Regions from separate parts of the Homo sapiens genome. Here region 1 is linked to region 2. The links are contacts of gene promoters, found by promoter capture Hi-C in human tissues and cell types (Jung and others, 2019). All regions are on one chromosome and are shown on one strand. Each heading gives the region's core, a stretch centred on a gene start or on the middle of the fragment in contact. The rest is flanking DNA. Distances are from core to core; before and after follow the strand shown. Region 1 overlaps INSL6 (insulin like 6). Region 2 holds the start of RLN2 (relaxin 2).

Region 1 (2,700 bases), core at 17-2,516, 130 kb after region 2:
TTTTCAAATGTCTGTTGGCTGCATGAATGCCTTCTTTTAAGAAATGTCTTTTCATGTCCTTTGCCCACTCTTTTTTTTTTTCTTTTGAGGTGGAGTCTTGCTTTGTCACCCAGGCTAGAGTGCAATGGCATGATCTCGGCTCACTGCAGCCTCTGCCTCCTGGGTTCAAGCAATTCTCCTGCCTCAGCCTCTCGAGTACCTGGGACTACAGGCACACACCACCACGCCCAGCTAATTTTTGTACTTTTAGAAGAGGCAGGGTTTCACTACATTGGCCAGACTGGTCTCGAATTCCTGACCTCAGGTATCTGCCCACCTCGGCCTCCCAAAGTGCTGGGATTACAGGCGTGAGCCACTGCACCTGGCCTGGCCACTCTTTAAGCGGATTGTTTGTTTTTTCTTGTAAATTTGTTTAAGTTCCTTGTAGATTCTGGATATTAGACCTTCGTTAAATGGATAGATTGCAAAAATTTCCTCCCACTCTGTAGGTTGTCTGTTCACTCTGATGGTAGTTTCTTTTGCTGTGCAGAAGTTCTTTAGTTTAATTAGATCTTATTTGTCAATTTGGGCTTTTGTTGCAATTGCTTTTGGTGATTTTGTCCTGAAATCTTTGCCCATACCTATGTTGTGAATAGCATTGCCTAGATCTTCTTCTAGGGTTTTTATAGTTTTGGTTTTACAGTTAAGTCTTTAATTCAGCTTGAGTTAATTTTTCTATAAGGTGTAGGGAAGTGGTCCAGTTCTCCCAGCACCATTTATTAAATAGCGGATCCTTTGCCCATTGCTATTTTTTGTCACGTTTGTCCAAGATCAGATGGTCATAGATGTGCGGTCTTATTTCTGAGTTCTGGAACAGAAATTCTATTGGTTTAGGTGTCTGTTTTTGTAACAGTACCATGCTGTTTTGGTTACTGTACCCTTGTAGTATAGTTTGAAGTCCAGTAGTGTGATGCCTCCCTTCAGCTTTGTTCTTTTTGCTTAGGATTGTCTTGGCTGTTTGAGCTCTTTTGGTTCCATACGACTTTTTAAATAGTTTCTTCTAGTTCTGTGAAGAATGTCGATGGTAGTTAGATGGGAATAGCATTGAAACTATAAATTACTTTGGGCAGGATGGCCATTTTCACGATATTGATTCTTCCTATCCATGAACATGGAATTTTTTTTTGTTTGTGTTCTCCCTTATTTCCTTGAGCAGTGGTTTGTAGTTCTCCTTGAAGAGGTCCTTCATGTTCCTCGCTAACTGTATTCATAGGTATATTCTCTTTGTAGCAATTGTGAATAGGAGTTCATTCATAATTCAGCTCTCTGCTTTCTTGTTCTTGGTATACAGGAATGTGTGTGACCTTTGCACGTTGATTTTGTATCTTGAGACTTTGCTGAATTTGCTTATCAGCTTAAGAAGCTTTTGAGCAGAGATGATGGTGTGTTCTAGATGGGGTGTCTATGTTTGCATGTCATCTGCAAACAAAGACAATTTGGCTTCCTCTCTTCCTATTTGAATACCCTTTATTTCTTTCTCTTGCCCGATTGCCTTGGCCAGGACTTCAGATACTATGTTGAATAGGAGTGATGAGAGGGCATCCTTAACTTGGGCCAGTTTTCAAGGGAATGAATCCAGCTTTACCCATTCAGTATGATATTTGGCCGTGGGTTTGTCATAAATGGCTATTATTTTGAGGTATGCTCCATCAACACCTGATTTATTGAGAGTTTTTAACATGAAGGGATGTTGAATTTTATGGAAGATCTTTTCTGCATCTATTGAAATAATCTTGTGGTTTTTGTCTTTAGATATGTTTATGTGATTAATTACATTTATTGATTTTGTATATTTTGAACCACCCTTGCACCCTGGACATGAAGCCAACTTGATCGTGGCAGATAAGCTTTTTGATGTGCTGCTGTATTTGGTTTGCCAGTATTTTATTGAGGATTTTTACATTGGTGTACTTCAGGAATATTGGCCTGAAGTTTTTTTGTTGTTGTATCTGTCAGGTTTTGGTATCAGGATGATGCTGGCCTCATAGAATGAGTTAGGGAGGAGTTCCTCCTTTTTGATTGTTTGGAATAGTTTCAGAAGAAAGAATATCAGCTCCTCTTTGTACTTTTGGTAGAATTCAGCTGTGAATCCATCTGGTCCTGGGCTTTTTTTGGTTGGTAGACTATTTATTACTGCCTCAATTTCAGAACTTGTTATTAGTCTATTCAGGGATTCAACTTCTTCCTGGTTTAGTCTTGTGGGGGTGTATGTGTTCAGGAATTTATCCATTGTGTCTAGATTTTCCGGTTTATTGGTATAGAGGTGTTTATAGTATTATCTGATGGTTGTTTGTATTTCTGTGGGGTCAGTGGTGATATCCCCTTTATCCTTTTTATTGTGTCTATTTGATTCTTCTTTCATTTCTTTATTAGCCTACCTAGTGGTCTATTTTATTAGTTTTTCCAAAAAAAAAAAAAGCCCCTGGATTCATTGATTGTTTGAAGGGTTTTTCGTGTCTCTGGTCTCCTTCAGTTCTGCTCTAAGCTTGGTTATTTCTTCTCTAGTTTTGGGGTTTGTTTGCTCTTGGTTCTCTACTTCTTTTGGTTGTGACGTTAGGGTGTTGATTTGAGATCTACCTTTTTGATATGGGCATTTAGCGCTATAAAGTTTCCTGTTAAGACTGCTTTAGCTATGTCCCAGAGATTCTGATACGTTGTTTC
Region 2 (2,700 bases), core at 158-2,657:
AAAAAAAAAAAAACAAAAAACAAAAACAAAGAAATCCCTGGAAATTTACATTTTTAACGACCAATTACTTTGGAGTACAGCCTTGCACATGGATTGTTTTTACAAGGACTGTCAACCCACAAAAATGTTTTCAAACCTCAGTTTTGAGAGGCCTCTCTCAAACTGCGTGTTTTAATGAAAACTCATTTAAAAGCATTGATTGCATCTGACCATCTCATAGTCTTGGTCAGGTATTTTTTGAAGAATTACACATTGCTTGGCATTTGACCAATGCTAAGTGGGCCTACTGACATCACCAGCAATCTAGAAATTAGAATTATTTGATTCCATAGTTATGTTTGTAACTAAGAGATTGTTATTCTTTTATTTCAAAGCTACCCTAATGTCCTGCATGTCTCCAGTTTATCTGATGGAGCTGAACTAATCTGAGTATATTATGAACACAAGCAAGTAAGTTATTTTAAAAAATGAACCTACTTGTACTAAAAATTTACAGGTAGAAGGGTTGTCTACTAACCATATTACCTAGAACAGTGTGGATCTTTAGAAAGTTAAATTAAATGATGGTAAAAAATCACCTCTTACCAGGTGCAGCAAACACAAAATACAGTAAACAAACAAACATATCTTTGTGCTGTAATTTGTTACCAAAATATTCTTTGTGGGATTGTGGGATTTCCACTGCTTTTTTTTCTTCTCTCTCTCTCTCTCTCTCTCTCTGTGTGTGTGTGTGTGTGTGTGTGTGTGTGTGTGTGTGTGTGTGGTATGTTCTCCAGTCTCCAGAGATGTAGATTAGAATTTTAAATTAAAATGTTCAGATAACTAGTTACAATCAAATTTATCCCCAAGAGTGGAAGGAAAGTGCAATGGAGAAATTGTTTTGTAAATTAAAGACATTACTGCACAAGCCTAACATGATGTTACTGGGGATTTTAATGTTTTTACCTGCATTCAGATTAAAAGTCATCAGTTTTCCCTGTCATCAACAATTTATTTATTCATCCATTCTATTTTTATATTTTTATGGATTGATATACCCAACACTATACTAATTAACCCAATTTACAAGATAATCTATAATCTTATTTAGGTTAGAAGGGTTTTTTGGCAAATGTTCACTCTAGAAAACTGAGTTGTAAGAATATGGGTGATCTCAAATTTGTTTCTGTGTGTGTAAAAGGAAAGGCTTCATATCTAAAATGACTTTACCTCAGTATACTAAATTGTTTGAGGGTAATGAATGAGAAGAACACAACTGTAAAAGGGCCAAGGACAGAGGGATGGGCAAATGAAGGAAAGGCAGAGAGGGAGACCAAGAGCTGAGGGGGAAAATTCTGTGGAGGGGTGTGGGAAAGGGGTGGAGCTGGCACCCTTGCCTTAAAAGCTGAGTGATAGCCCAAGGGATACAAAAGACCGCTTGAGCCGGGTAGGGAAAGCAGCCTAAAGCCCGGGACAGGCACACAGGCCCAGGTGTGTAGGCCACAGCAGCTGCAGTCCTGAAAGGCTGCAACGTCCCGACCTCCAGGAGAGACCAGGCCCAGGATGCCTCGCCTGTTTTTTTTCCACCTGCTAGGAGTCTGTTTACTACTGAACCAATTTTCCAGAGCAGTCGCGGACTCATGGATGGAGGAAGTTATTAAATTATGCGGCCGCGAATTAGTTCGCGCGCAGATTGCCATTTGCGGCATGAGCACCTGGAGCAAAAGGTCTCTGAGCCAGGAAGATGCTCCTCAGACACCTAGACCAGTGGCAGGTGAGAGCTCCCGCCCCCTCCCGGCCTTCCCGCGCTTCCCATTGGTTACTCTGGGGCGGCCGCCCAATTGGAACGGCGGCCTGCACGTCCGACTCGAGATCTCATTGGCTGCCACCGCTCAGCCCCTACTCAGCCGTGGCTGGTCCCTAAAGTTTGGGCTTTTCCTTTGCCAGGTGATTTTATTCAAACAGTCTCACTGGGAATCTCACCGGACGGAGGGAAAGCACTGAGAACAGGAAGCTGCTTCACCCGAGAGTTCCTTGGTGCCCTTTCCGTAAGGCAGTCAGAGCGACGGGGTGGAAAGGGAGGGGAAGCCTCAGAGGAGGTGACGCCGCCCGGAGACCCGCAGGAGGCCGGGCGCACTCCTGCACCCCACAGGAAAGCCAGGCGGCCAGACAGCGGGCGTGCTGGTGGGGGCACCTGAACAGGGCTTCTCGGATAGAGAGGAGAGGGGACAAACACTGAGGCGGCGCGCTAGTTATCAAGCCTGTTTGCGCGCCTGTAGGACGGGGCAACACTCTGAGGTCTCTGTGAGGGTCCCGTGATGGGAAGACAGGAAGGGCCTTACACTTAATGACTCTCCTAGTCCAGAAGTTGGGCTGTGGCCTTTGCCATTGGAAACGTTCTTTAAAATAAACAAACAGAAAATCCCAAAGGAAAGAGTCTGACCTCCCGCTTCTTTGATCTGGGTATTGAAGTTCATTTGTGAGGCAGGGGATGGAAGAGAAAGGAAAGGCTTGAATGCCTTTAGGAGAAACTCAAGAGGACCAGAGACAAGGAAAGCAGGCCGTTCAGACCATCATAGCTGAAGACCCTACTGATGCTTTCAAGCATTTGGAAGCTGCAGTGGGTTTGCTTTAAAGGCAAGCTCTTAGAGTTGAGTACAGCTCAATCTGAAATGGCTTTTAAAAATATTTTAGTATTTATAAAGTAGCAGTGGAAACTCA

The links. The method cuts DNA at HindIII sites, captures the fragments that hold promoters and counts their contacts. A contact is called where the count stands out against the background at its distance.
Region 1: a contact is called between a fragment that was not itself captured here and the fragment with the promoter of RLN2 in region 2, in 1 of the 25 tissues and cell types used here (heart left ventricle).

Annotation. Positions count from the first base shown.
Region 1 is chr9:5,170,314-5,173,013 of GRCh38, reverse strand. The region is part of intron 1 of INSL6 (insulin like 6); the gene reads left to right. Among named protein-coding and RNA genes, the nearest start is that of INSL6, 14 kb to the left of the region's middle. The HindIII fragment of the contact is 3,731 bases long and covers 1-2,700 here.
Region 2 is chr9:5,303,423-5,306,122 of GRCh38, reverse strand. It overlaps RLN2 (relaxin 2), which reads left to right and starts at 1,407. Exons shown (of 2, transcript NM_134441.3): 1 at 1,407-1,753. The coding sequence starts at 1,543. RefSeq lists an enhancer at 1,482-1,531. The HindIII fragment of the contact is 20,018 bases long and covers 1-2,700 here.